Regions from separate parts of the Homo sapiens genome. Here all the other regions are linked to region 2. Evidence: promoter capture Hi-C in 16 types of primary human blood cells and fetal thymus (Javierre and others, 2016). All regions are on one chromosome and are shown on one strand. Each heading gives the region's core, a stretch centred on a gene start or on the middle of the fragment in contact. The rest is flanking DNA. Distances are from core to core; before and after follow the strand shown.

The links. Contacts are between HindIII fragments. The CHiCAGO score rates a contact against its expected background, and 5 or more counts as called.
Region 1: a contact is called between a fragment that was not itself captured here and the fragment with the promoter of LHX4-AS1 in region 2, in 1 of 17 cell types (monocytes). The highest score is 5.0, in monocytes.
Region 3: a fragment that was not itself captured here is called in contact with the fragment with the promoter of LHX4-AS1 in region 2 in 8 of 17 cell types (neutrophils, monocytes, endothelial precursors and 5 more); the score reaches 13.1 in neutrophils.
Region 4: a fragment that was not itself captured here is called in contact with the fragment with the promoter of LHX4-AS1 in region 2 in 3 of 17 cell types (endothelial precursors, monocytes and M1 macrophages); the score reaches 5.7 in endothelial precursors.
Region 5: a fragment that was not itself captured here is called in contact with the fragment with the promoter of LHX4-AS1 in region 2 in 7 of 17 cell types (neutrophils, M1 macrophages, M2 macrophages and 4 more); the score reaches 15.8 in neutrophils.

The regions. Positions count from the first base shown.
Region 1 is chr1:180,444,545-180,447,361 of GRCh38, forward strand. The region is part of intron 3 of ACBD6 (acyl-CoA binding domain containing 6); the gene reads right to left. Among named protein-coding and RNA genes, the nearest start is that of MIR3121, 7.6 kb to the left of the region's middle. The HindIII fragment of the contact is 5,556 bases long and covers 1-2,817 here.
Region 2 is chr1:180,273,248-180,275,947 of GRCh38, forward strand. LHX4-AS1 (LHX4 antisense RNA 1) reads right to left here and starts at 1,434. Exons shown (of 5, transcript NR_037642.1): 1 at 1,404-1,434; 2 at 690-865; 3 at 91-151. LHX4 (LIM homeobox 4) reads left to right here. Exons shown (of 6, transcript NM_033343.4): 6 at 938-2,700. The coding sequence ends at 1,332. It also overlaps a transcript of ACBD6 not described here. The HindIII fragment of the contact is 1,811 bases long and covers 551-2,361 here.
Region 3 is chr1:180,425,661-180,428,492 of GRCh38, forward strand. The region is part of intron 4 of ACBD6 (acyl-CoA binding domain containing 6); the gene reads right to left. LOC105371637 (a long non-coding RNA gene) reads right to left here. Exons shown (of 2, transcript XR_922334.3): 1 at 1-2,832. Among named protein-coding and RNA genes, the nearest start is that of MIR3121, 11 kb to the right of the region's middle. The HindIII fragment of the contact is 3,094 bases long and covers 21-2,832 here.
Region 4 is chr1:180,491,218-180,493,917 of GRCh38, forward strand. ACBD6 (acyl-CoA binding domain containing 6) reads right to left here. Exons shown (of 8, transcript NM_032360.4): 3 at 1,052-1,148. Among named protein-coding and RNA genes, the nearest start is that of ACBD6, 10 kb to the right of the region's middle. The HindIII fragment of the contact is 530 bases long and covers 1,142-1,671 here.
Region 5 is chr1:180,406,998-180,409,778 of GRCh38, forward strand. The region is part of intron 5 of ACBD6 (acyl-CoA binding domain containing 6); the gene reads right to left. Among named protein-coding and RNA genes, the nearest start is that of MIR3121, 30 kb to the right of the region's middle. The HindIII fragment of the contact is 2,888 bases long and covers 1-2,781 here.

The sequences.
Region 1 (2,817 bases), core at 4-2,503, 170 kb after region 2:
AAAGATGCGTTAGTTTTCCTTTCTATACACTTCATCTACCAGAGTGGATAAACTTTGGCTACTTTACCCTCTTGATATCCACTCCAGTGAAATTTCTTTCATAGAGGCTTAGAAGTTTATTCCATTTCTCTCTACTCAAAATCCATTAAGTCACTTTTATGTTGCATCAGCAATTAAATAGAGTCCAATTTGGCAGCGAACAGGATAAAATTTGCCAGTTCTTACATTGCCTGAGACTCTATTAGTTGAGAAACTAAAATGCTCCTTCACTCAAAAGGGAAAGGATAAGTTGTTGGCTAAATCTTTATCACTTGATTCAGACTCCACCTTAGTCAGTTTTAGAGTCAAGATTTAAAGCCTTGTGAAACTTTTTCTTCTATTCCTAAGATTATCAAGCTAATCTATGCAAAGAGGTTTCTTGCTTCTGTGTGCTACCTTTTTTGGATTTGTTTTACTGTTTTGTTTAATTCATTTATAGTCTAACTGTAGAATGCTGGGAAAATTAATCTACTTCTTTGCCTCAGTTTCCTCATTTGTAAAAATGGGAATAATAGTACCTATTTCATACCTATTTATATTTATACATAAATAAAACAGTATCCAGTGCAAAGTGGCCATTTTGTAAGTGTTAGCTAATACAATAATTATTATTGCCCAAAACATGGCCATTTCTCCAACGCAAAAGTGTTTCAGCAATATAGATACAAGATGTTGTGATGTGGGGACTTAAAATATTGACCTATGGTCTTTACCTAATAGCTCTAAACTCCTGATTCTCTTGATAAAACAACAACAAATCCCCCAAACAAACCAATCATAAAAACTCTAACATACTTCGTTATAAGAAAAAGAGATAGAAAACTAATACTTAAGGAATATTTTCTATGTGCTTATACTATCCAACTTCCACTTCAAAACGAGTCTATAAAGCTGGCATTATCACTGTATTTTATTTAATCTAAGATATCCTCAATTATAAGAAGCACCATTATTTTCTGTAATGTTCAGAAAGAAAAACTAGCCAATTAAATATAATACACTAAGACTCATACAGATTTCAAAAATATTAAAAACTGAATAAATGTCTGCCTTAGATTTGGCCAGGTGCAGTGGCTCATGCCTTTAATTCCAGCACTTTGAAAGGCTGAGGAAGGAGGATCACTTGAGCTCAGGAGTTCAAAACCAGCCTAGACAACATGGTGAGACCCTGTCTCTACAAAAGAAAAAAAAAAGATTTGATGAAATATAAGTAAATATTTATTTTACAGATTCAAAAACTGAAAAGAGGTGAAGTATCCAATGCCACAGAAGTGGCAGAATTGGGATTCACACCAAGATCCTTTGATATTCCAAAGCCTGTGTTCTATTAAATTACATTATATTACTTCTCCAAGCTATTTTGGAAACCATTATTACATACTGACAATATTCTAAATTAAAATTTTGTCTGTTTCTTAAGTGTACTTTTTTTTGGGGGGGATGGGGTCTCATTCTGTCACCCAGGCTGGAGTACAGTGGGTGATCTTGGCTCATTCAACTTCTGCTTCCCAGGCTCAAGGGATCTCCTCCCACCTCAGCCTCCCAAGTAGCTGGGACCACAAGCAAGCACCATCACGCCGGGATAATTTTTTTTTTTTTTTGTATTTTTGGTAGAGACAGGGTTTTACCATGTCACCCATGCTGGTCTTTAACTCCTGGGCTCAAGCGATCTACCCACCTCAGCCTCCCTAAGTGCTGAGATTACAGGTGTGAGCCACCACACCCAGCCTTAAGTGTACTTTTAAAATGTTTACATAAAGTACTCCATTAGTTCAAAGAGAAAACTTTAAACATTTTTGAAGCAAAATTATTCTGATAAATTATGCATAATTTAGTTGCTAGATTAATACTATCATTCTAAACCCTTAAAAGAGGAACACTTTTCTGATAATCCTTTTGAAATACTAAATTTTTTCCTGAAACATGAATAGCTATTCATTTCAAGTAGAAAAGTAAGAATATTGGTTTCATCTCATCTACCATTTGTCACAGCATTAAAAAGAAAACTTTACCATGAAAATATTGTTGGTTGCTACTTATAACAGTAATATTTATAAAATTTTTCAAGAAAGGGGAACTCCATAAACGTATGTTTTTAACCTGTTTCTCTTAAAATTACAAACACACAGCAATATTTTAAAAAATCATCTCCTACAACCTTTAAAAAACAGACATTTAGCCAGGTGCAGTCTCATGCCTGTAATCCTAGCACTTTGGGAGGCAGAGGCAGGCGGATTACCCGAGGTTAGGAGTTTGAGACCAGCCTGGCCAACATGGTAAAACCCCATCTCTACTAAAAATACAAAAATTAGCTGGGCATGGTGGTGCATATCTGTAATCCCAGCTACTTGGGAGGCTGAAGCAGGAGTATTGCTTGAACCCGGGAGGGAGAGGTTGTAGTGAGCTGAGATAACCCCCGACAGTCCAGCCTGGGTGATAGAGTGAGACTCTGTCCCAAAACAAACAAACAAAAAAACCCAGACATTTATAAAAATGTCAGTTCTCTAGAAATGTTGCATAAATGCTTAAATTAGCATTGGAAAATAATTTTAAATAAAAGCAATGAGAACAGAAATGATATGAACAAGTATTTTATCCAATCCTCCAAATTTCAGCCTTTCCTAATATTTTTTGTATATATACTACATACACTAGCTAACACATTTTTTAAAGATTAAAAGACTGAAGAACACTTTTTTTTTAACCAAACACTTTACACCACAGAAATATGAGATAATTTTTACATATAATTAATATGGTCAACAGAACTCCGAAGAT
Region 2 (2,700 bases), core at 184-2,683:
CCAGAGGTCAGCTGAGCCCTAGAGGGCAGCCTCCTCTGAGAACACAGGGCCCGTGAGGCCTTGGGGACAGCTCATGGGACTAATACTCACCTTTTAGGCTTCTTGGCAGGATTGGGAAAGTCAATCTCATCTGGGCTGTTGAAGTCAACACCTAGAACATACTGGATTGTTAAGCTCATTTCTGTTGGGTGCAGGTGGGTCCCTGGGCTGACCTATCATTGGTTTCTCTGGGAATAATTTCTCAAAGACTAAAACTGCTCACCTCTGTTGGAGAGAGAAATTCTTTCAAGTGGCAAAGATTCCATTAGATCCCCTTAATGAAATTCTTTAAGAAAAAAGAAGGTTCATTTGCCTTAATCAAGTCAATTCTTTGTCCCCAGTGAAGAGCTTATTGAATACAGACAGAAACCAAGTCCTTTGATATTGAACCTCTCTTCCAGATAGACCAGAAGGATTTTGTACAGATGTCTAAGAGTGGTCCTCAGCTTCCCTGACCATATGGGCCTGCTTGCTTCCCAATCAACTAAACCAAGCCCTTTCTCAGCTTGAAAGCTTTCAGGGTAAATGTTGTCAGCATGTAGTTTCCATTTGTGATGTGGAGACATCTGACCCACCCAGCCTTAGGCATTCATCCTCCTCAGTGTAGCCAGAGTATTAGTACACGAGCCACAAGGGACCAACGAGCTCACCAAACATTTGTCCATCCTTCTGGGACCTGGGAATTTAGTCTTTGCAGGTGTTTCTTGTTTTTCTCCTTGGCCTGGGTTGGCCTCTGGATATCAGGCTGCCATATTGGTGTGTCTGACCCATGCTTGGCTGCAAGGCAGCTGCCATCCTTGGGCATCTTTCCTGGTCATGTGTGTTCCTAGGTTGTGAAGAGCAGGGGACCATCAGAGTCCTGGCAGCTGACAATAAATCTCCGTTCTTTTGTCCACAGAGGATCAAATTCTCTCAGAACTTGGCCACACCAATAGGATTTATGGCAACGTGGGGGACGTTACAGGCGGACAGTTAATGAATGGGAGCTTCTCCATGGACGGGACAGGACAATCCTATCAGGACTTGAGGGATGGGAGCCCCTATGGAATCCCCCAGTCTCCATCCTCCATATCGTCCCTGCCATCCCACGCTCCTTTGCTCAATGGGCTGGATTACACGGTGGACAGTAATTTGGGCATCATTGCGCATGCAGGGCAGGGAGTAAGCCAGACGCTGAGAGCCATGGCTGGGGGACCCACCTCTGACATCTCCACAGGAAGCAGTGTAGGCTATCCCGACTTTCCAACTAGCCCAGGCTCTTGGCTCGATGAAATGGATCATCCTCCTTTTTAAACTTCTCTCCTCCCCACCCTACCTGCCCCCCTGGCTTGAGAGAATATCTTCAAGGATCAAAAGAGACTTGCCTTTTAAGGATCGAAAGTACGCCAATGTGAATTTCCATTATTTTCAATGGAAGTCCTCCGCTGATTCCTAGAAGGCTGTGAGACCACACTAGGGCATTGTTTCCCTGGGGAAGCAGTGGGAGAGCAGACTCATCTCAGAACACAGCACAGGGGGTAATGGCCTAGAGCTCTAGGGACACTGGCTTGTTGGGTCTCTCCCCTGCTGTTCTGCTTAGGGGCTTGGCTGCTCAGTGCTTTGGTAGCACAAGGTGACTGTGATAGGCCCCCTTGGCCTTTGGGAACTTTGCTCCAACTGGTGTGTCTCACACAATGCCTCCCAAAACACTGCTCTCACCAGAACTGAGACTCCTAAGGTAGAGGCCTCACAGCCCTTGAGTAAAATAAAAGTGATTTCTGGACCATCCTTATTGAACCCTATATTTCAAAATGAAAAGATCAGTTATTAAAGGTCAGTGAACACTTTGATGGCCAGTTTGATATTAAAAACATGCCCCCTCCTTTTTTATTTTTGCTGTGAAGATATGAATTCTTTCCTACAAACCAGAGAATATGAACCTGTTTTGGTTTTTAAGTGTCCCATCTATATCATTGACTCTGATGGCAAGAGGTGGTTTTCATTGCAGGTGACTGAGGCTGAGCTGAGTAGCCCTGGACCACCGCTGCAGATTGCCTGAGTCGTCCCCTTGGTGCACAGTGTGCCTTCTTCAATTGCTTGTATCATTTATTCCACAAGACAGGCTGTGGGCTGTAAAATGAGCAAAACTAAAATGTGGGGAGAACAAAATGACAATCAATCAGTGAACATTTGTAGACACATTTGGATTCCAAACCTGCAGTCTGTTCAGCCATATCGGCTGATGCCAGTCTTCCAGAGTTCCCCATCCCTTGTAGGGTGAAATATTTGGAGTCTGTTTTGAAGGAGTTGGTTTAGATGAGCTTGCAAGTCTACCCCTCTGAAAGCTTTCTCTGCTGTCCTAGCTGACTCAATTGGAGGACAGTTTTGGTCATTTCCAGGAACCAGCAATTTTTTTTTGGCCTACCTTGGTTGGGAAGAGTAATTTAGGGAGCAGCCCTAAAATTGTCCAAAGGGTTCTAAGTGGTTCTTGGGCTGCATCTCTCTGGATTGCTGGCTGGACACCTGCCATGCCTTGGGCTGCAGTCCCATGGTCAGAAAGCCAGAACTCTCTGGCCAGTGGTGGTGCAGGGACTCCCCGTTGTGCAGGTTTGCAGTAGCAAATCACTAAGCCTGAGGCCAGAGCAAGGCCAACCCCCGCTTTACGAGTTGCCACTCCTGCGA
Region 3 (2,832 bases), core at 318-2,817, 150 kb after region 2:
GCTGCAATGTAACAATGTGAAGCTTTGAATGAATAAATAGAATTTTATAACATCTGATTTTAGAAGTAATTTACAATAAAACTATACACGTTACAGCTTTTTCTCCAATCATATCTCTTTCAGGAAAATTTTAGAGTATAATTTATGCATGACAGGCTTTTATGCTACTTCCAAGTTAGTTCATATTTCACCAAGAATACAAAATTAAAGCATAAAACAATCACTTTCATTCTAATTTTTTATACTTATATTCTTCCATTTATAATCAGGACTAGACAGCAGCCAATGAAAAGATATTTGGGAAATATTTTCAAAATCCATTATTGTTTAAAAATGGAAACTTTATAAGTCAATGATTAAAGCATCTCTTTGAAATTCTACAGGCTTTTGTGTCTGACCACAAGCAGCAACCTCTTGTATTTTCTGCCAAAACACTTCATTTGTCTCACAGAACAACTAATCAATTCCAGAGCCCATCAATCATTTCAGTTGTATACTAGGACTGGTCTTGCTTAGAGAAGGTCCAGATGGCTGTCTGTGTAAGCAGAATTAATAAAATTCTAATAGATTACATGACATCAAACTACAAAATATAACAGGGAGGATCAAATCTTATTGCAGGGTGGTGTGGGTACTGTTCAATCTTCATTTACTACATTTTTAATTCTTACCCTAATTTCTCAATTTATGTGCAAACTTCTAGATCAAACCTTTGAAGCATGCAAGTAACCAGAAGCAATTTCTTGTATATGTAGTGCAGAATCATCTTACTCTACAAACCCCTATGCTTATTGACCAGTACTTTTTCTGCCCATCTGCGGTATAAATGAAAAACAGCTGATCGCAAAACCAGAGGTTACTCCCTGTTATAAGATTTGTTACTCTCGTTTCTATAGTTCTAAAAATATTGGCTCTCCCTTCCTTGTTTTCCATTTTCTTTTGCAAAAGCAAACAACTTGCATTTAATTATATAACCAGAATGCCATGTTATTGTAGCTCCTAACATCAGCTCCTGGCTCCTCTGTAGGGACTCCCTCTGCCGAATAACAATACTATTTATAAAAGCTAACAGTTACACAGTAACTTATTTTGCACCAGGTACTGTTCGAGGATGTCTATGTATTCACATAATCTGCTAAGTATCAAGTGAGATAAGTACTATAATTATCCCCATTTTACAGGTAAGTAACTTGCCCAAGATCACACAGCTAGTAAGTGGTGGAACTAGCATTTGAATGCCAGCGGTTTGGCTCCATAATTTTTTGTACTTAATTAGAATCCCCCTACACCCCCTCAATTATATTACAGAACAATTAACTTGCTTCAGAATGAGAAATTGATGTCAGAGCTCTGCAATATTAACACAGAGATCTGAACCTCTGACATTATATTGATACTTTCTATGACAGAGTAGAAAGCAGGAAGCAAGCTCAGAATTGGCCCCACTGGCCCTTGGCTCAAACTCATAACTCATCATCTATTATACAATACACATTCGTCAGAAAAGCTGCCACAACAATGGAACCCAAACTTAACCAAATGGATTTATTAGATAGTGATTTGCCTGATCTTTACAAATGTAAAAAAAATCTGGAGTTATAAAGTATCAAAACAAACCTTCAAAATACATTATTTTATGTCCTTTTTTAAAAATAACAGTTCCATAGAAAAGAATTTTTGCTTTCATCCAAGTCTACCATTTGATGCTTCTAAAACTCTAAAACCTACTGTCACTTTCGCCTCAGTTAAATATAATTCTGCCAAGAAATTGCAATTAATATCAATTAAAGCACAACTTTCTCTTAGAAAAATAAAACACCAGATATATTTCACCAAAATACAAGCATAATTTGATTACATAACTTCAAGAAATAACCCATTTTCATTGTTGCAATTGCATTCTGATACGTAAGAAACCATACGGACTACATCTGGCTCTTCACTGGAATAATCCAACATTTCAGTACATAAGAATTTTCATGCCAGGCACAGCGGCTCACGCCTGTAATCCCAGCACTTTGGGGAGGCCAAGGCAGGTGGATCACGAGGTCAAGAGATCGAGACCATCCTGGCTAATATGGTGAAACCCTGTCTCCACTAAAAATACAAAAATTAGTTGGGCATGGTGGTGCGCCTGTAGTTCCAGCTACTCAGGAGGCTGAGGCAGGGGAATCGCTTGAATCCAGGAGGCAGATGTTGCAGTGAGCTGAGATCATACCACTGCACTCCAGCTTGGTGACAGAGCAAGACTCTGTCTCAAAAAAAAAAAAAAAACCAAAAACCAAAAAACAACGAATTTTCATTATGGCCTAATTTGTTATAATGGAATTCTACACTATAAAAAGAACTCTCCCAATACAAGAGTATGATTAGTTGCTGTAATTTCTGATCTGCTGTAGTAGTAACAAAATTACTGTGTTTGTAATAGTTAAACAGCTTTCAATGGCTTGCTCACATTCATGTTTCTTACTCTTTCTTAACAATATGTTCAGAATATGAAGATTTAGATGATATCATAAGACTAATACTTAATGAAGACTTCATGAAAAAAAGGCCAAGTCTAACCAATTTTGCCCACAAAGGTTCATATTTCATTCAATTAATATTTATTAAACATACTTTCATGAAAATGCCAAAAGTAGTAAGAACATATTATTCAAAAGTGAAGAAGTTGAGAAGCACAAATATTCCAATGTTTTCTGTCATTATAGGTTCATAATAAATGTGTGTTGAATTGAATTTAAATCTCTACAAAAATAAACTGTATTATTCTTTGTCATTGTTTATCACTGTCAAAATTCTAAATACTGATTTAAATCTAAGAATCACTTC
Region 4 (2,700 bases), core at 157-2,656, 220 kb after region 2:
AATTGTTTAATTCATTAACTGCTAAAATGTTTGGCCTTAATATTTTTATTGAAAAAAATTCAATTTGCATTTTTTACATGGTACAATGCAACCTCTATCTCACTGAAATACCTGTTAATCATTTAACAATATTCTTAAATAGTAACCTCACCTTTATTAAATTCTTTCTAGATGTTCTCCAATAAGTATATGAGAAAAACAGGGTATATTTAAGTGAACAATATCCAATGCTTCCAAAGTCCAAAGCAATCCCTTTTCCTGCTGGATTCCCTAGCATTTACATTATTATTGTTTTATACTATTAAAGATATATATTTTGATATGTTTTATCTTCTCTATTACACTTTAAACTACATAATGGCAGAAATCATGTCTTATTCATCTTTTATCCCTAATAAGCATTTTGCCCTTGCATAGAAAGTGATCATAAAAACGAAATCCAAGAGTAACCTTTTTTCCAGCATGATAATCTCAAGTTAAACTCTTTCCAATTCTTATGTAATTCAAATTTTTCTGCTTTCAAAAACTCTGCAACTCAGAGAAGTTCTCAGCATCAGTAGCTGGTTATATTACTATTTAAGTAATTATTATTAATTTTTTTCATTTTTCTGAGATGGAGTCTCACACTGTCACCCAGGCTGGAGTGCAGTGGCCTGATTTTGGCTCACTGCAGCCTCAGCCTCCCAGGTTCAATTGATTCCCCTGCCTCAGCTTCCTGAGTAGCTGGGATTACAGGTGTGTACCACCACGTCCAGCTAATTTTTGTATTTTTAGTAGAGATGAGATTTCACCATGCTGGCCAGGCCGGTCTTGAACTCTTACCTCAGGTGAACCACCTGGCTTGGCCTCCCAGAGTGCTGGGATTACAGGTATGAGCCACCACACCTGGCCAGCAATTATTTTATTAGATAAATATTACAATAACTTTAAAATATTTCAAGAAAGTAAAACTTTAAGCATGTTACTTAAAACTAAGTTTAGTTTTAGACATTTATTTCAGAGAAGGATCATAAGTTTTTGGAAAGTATTATTTATAATCATTAAGTCTTACCTGAGGATTCCAACCTGGATCTAGTTTTTTAACTACTGCGATATATTCCTGCATTGCTTGGCTGGGGCTTGAATCACCAAGTGCTTTCCAAGCTTCCCTACAATATGGAATATCCAAAATGGCCTGTCATTATGCAAATAACACAAACAGCATTTTTCTTATTATTAAAAAAACTGTATGCACATTTCAAGGGTCTCTGAATATAGAGATAATAAGCTATGGATAGAGAAGCTCTGTCTTTTTGCATTTACATTGGTCTAGAGCTATACAGACCTTATTGCCCTACCTAAGCAGTCTTTTCAGACATTTTTTTTCCTAATCGTCCTCCCCGTGAAATTTTAAAAACACAGATACAATGCATAGCTATTAAATTTTGAAAGACCACAAACCACTGTAATCTAAGATTTTATAATTTCCTCAAACAAAATTTCACCCCTATTGAGGATATATGATCTACAGACTAATAGAGATTATTCTCATAAATTAACTGTGCTTATGGCATTTTGGTCGTACAGAAACTAATCATCACATAAAAAACAATATTCCCAAGGAAAATGCATCAAACTTCTTACTAAGATACAAGAAATCCACCTTCCCTTTCTGCTGTTATCTCATCTATAAGCTTCTAGTAACTGATCCTGGGGACTTAGTCTGGGACTTCAAAAGTAAGGGATGGTGAGGGCAGAAATAAGAATACTGGCCAGGCTTGGTGGCTCACGCCTGTAATCCCAGCACTTTGGGAGGCTGAGGCAGGTGGACCACCTGAGGTCAGGAGTTTGAGACCAGCCTGGCCAACATGGTGAAACCCCATCTCTACTAAAGATACAAAAATTAGCCAGGCGTGGTGGTGTGCGCCTGTAGTCCAGCTACTCTGGAGGCCGAGGCAGGAGAATTGCTTGAACCTGGGAGGCAGAGGTTGCAGTAAGCTGAGATGGCACCACCACACTCCAGCCTGGGCAACAGAGCAAAATTCTGTCTCAAAAAAAAAAAAAAAAAAAAAAAAAAAAAAACAACAACAGCAACTAAAGAATACTAATGAGTAAGTTAGGGACTTCCTACAATATAAATGGCAAAAGCAACATTTTAGTCCTGAGCTTCCTTTTGGGTCATCTACCCCCCTGCCCCCACAACAGGCTGCCAGGACAGGCCTTCTTCTTGGTTTTTCCCTGCCAATTCTTTCTAAATTCCAACCAGTGTTTCTCGATTTCCCTGATTTGCTGTCAAACAGAACTCAATCCCACATTTTTTCACTACCTTCCTGCTTCTATGATGAATATAATATCTTTCTGAGGTTTTCTAAATTTATTTTCACTGAATTCCTTAAGAATTACTTATACGCATCATAACACTTCATCCCTAAATAGATCAGCTTACACAAACTCAGGAAATTTATCATCAATTACTATTATACAATATAGAGGCTATACATTCAGATTTTCCTGATTGTCCCAATAATGTCCTTTATGGCTTTCTTCTCCCACACCAGGAACCAATCAAGATCCACACACAGCATTGAGTTTCATGTATCTTCAGCTTTTTTGTCTTCCACATTGTTGGTATTTTTTAAGAGTCCAACTGTTTTATAACATATCCCTCAATTTGAATTTGTCTAATTGTTTCCTTACCTACAGTGTTCTTGCCAAAAATGA
Region 5 (2,781 bases), core at 184-2,683, 130 kb after region 2:
TTGTTTTATTTGCTAGAGCTTTAAATGTGATGAAGCAATACTATTTATTTTATTTTGGGATGTTAAGTTTGATTTTGATTTTAAGCTCCCACCTCCCTTATGTTCTTAAATTAATTCATACAAATCCCTGATTAATAATAAAAGGGTTTGCCATCAGTATTCAAAGCTCAGCCTGAATTGTCATGGCTGAGAGGGCAGAAATCTGCTTGGAGCAATGAGAGAACCCAACTGAATTCTTGGCGTCTCAGTCTATGAATGTGTAAGCACTTCATCTGTTCATGAAATACAACGTTCTGGCAGGCTGAGGGTAAAGGTAGCTGCATGGTTAACAAACTGGAAGATCTGGAAAGCAGCACTACATCAAAGTAACAAAATGGCAGAAACAATACATTTTGCCAAGTTTTCCTTGTCTTTACACACACAAAATATGTGTTATTTAGTGTAAGCTATCTGTGTTCTAGGCACTTATTCCACCCCTATCACTGTTGTCCATCCAGTGATCTTTGTGGAGGTCACATGTGGATTTGACTTCCAGTAATATTTTATAAAAGAAATTGCTGCAAACCAGAGCATAACACAGGGAAGGCCAAATGACAACTGCTTATCCTTCTTTTTCTTCTTTTTATTTATCCTTCTAAAATCTAGTGGTAGGAAGAATACTCTCCCAGACCTGGTTTCTACTTAGCAGTTATATGGATTTGAGCAAGTAAATGTAGGTCTCTGAACTTCAGTTCCTGTCTGTAAAACAAGGACAATATCTGCCTTAGAGAACTGTTGTAGAGATAATATAGTAATAAGTGAAAGTACTCTGTAAACTATCACATGCATTGTATAAAGTATTATGTGTTATTTGAAAGATAAATATTAACAGGCACCATATAGTACACACAAGATACTTCCAGTGAAAAAACTGTGACTTTGAAAAGTTAAGTGGCCTACTTATTGATTTGTTATATTATCATCATCCTTCACTCATACTATTAATAATAAAAGTAGATAAAATATACAGACTGTCTCAACTGATCCAAAACCCTTTTGAAATATCAGATAAACATAAAGAAATCAAGTAAGAGCATTATCAGAATATATAAATGAGATGGTGTCACTCATCTCATGAGACAGTGATATAAGCAAAAAAACAAATGTTTGTTGCTGTAAGCAACTGAAATTTGGGGGTTGTGCCACAGCAAAAGCTGACTGATACACACAAGTACAATCCACAGCTTAGCAATGAGTATTTACATAGTCATAATAATATTAATATTGATTCAACAGAGATTCAATCAGAAAGCTGAAATTAAAAGTTGTGATATCATATACACCATGGAATACTATGCAGCCATAAAAAATGATGAGTTCATGTCCTTTGTAGGGACATGGATGAAATTGGAAATCATCATTCTCAGTAAACTATCGCAAAGACAAAAAATCAAACACTGCATGTTCTCACTCATAGGTGGGAATTGAACAATGAGAACACATGGACATAGGAAGGGGAACATCACACTCTGGGGACTGTTGTGGGGTGAGGGGAGGGGGACAGATAGCATTAGGAGATATACCTAATGCTAAATGATGAGTTAATGGGAGCAGCACACCAGCATGGCACATGTATACATATGTAACTAACCTGCACATTGTGCACATGTACCCTAAAACTTAAAGTATAATAATAATAAAATAAAATAAAAAAGTTGTGATATAATTACGTTAGGAGGGTCAGAGAGAGAGAGGGAAGATGAGTAAAACAGTTAAATCTAAATATAACACAGAAACAAATCAATAATGTCTAAAGTTGAAAAATCAAGAAATAGAAGTATATTATTTAGAATTATGTAGGTAAGGTGCTAAAGACACATTAAAAGAACTGGAAGTCTGGCCGGGTGCAGTGGCTCACATCTGTAACCCTAACACTTTGGGAGGCTGAGGCAGGCTGATTACTAAAGCTCAGGAGTTCGAGACCAGCCTGGCCAACATGGTGAAACCCCATCTCTACTAAAAATACAAAAATTAGCCAGGCATGGTAGTGCACACCTGTGGTCCTAGCTACCTGGGGGCTGAGGTGGGAGGATCGCTTGAGCCCAGGAGGCAGAGGCTACAGTGAGCCCTGATCATGCCACTGCACTCCAGCCTGAGAATCTGTCTAAAAAAAAGAGAAAATTTTTGCCTTAAAGGAGCTAGAATAAAATGTAAGAAGGATGCAGGTAAGAGAGAATTTTTTTGTTTATAAGACTAATAGTAACATTTGATTTTTTAAAAAAACAAATGTATTAACTTTATAAAAATTTTAACTCACAAGCACAAAGATAAAAAACTACAATTTAAAAAATCAAGGGAAGCAATCATGCCAAATTTATTTAAAAAAGAAAGCTATACAGGCATACCTTGTTCTATTGCACTATGCTTCATTGCACTTTGCAAATACTGTGTTTTTTGTAAATTGAAGATTTGTAGCAACCCTGAGTTAAGCCAACTATTGGTGCCATTTTTCCAACAAGATGTGCTCACTTCATGTCTGTGTCACACTGAGGTAATTCTTGCAATACTTCAAAGTTTTTCATTATTATTATATCTGTTAGGGTAATGATCAGTGATCTCTGATGTTACTATTGTAATTGTTTTGGAGTGCTACAAACCACACTGAGAAAGATGGCAAATTTAACCAACAGATACTTTGTGTGTTCTGACTGCTCCACTGACTGGCTGTTCCTGGTCTCTCCCCCTCTCTTCAGGCTTCCCTATTCACTCAGACACAAAAATATTGAAATTATTAGCCAGTAA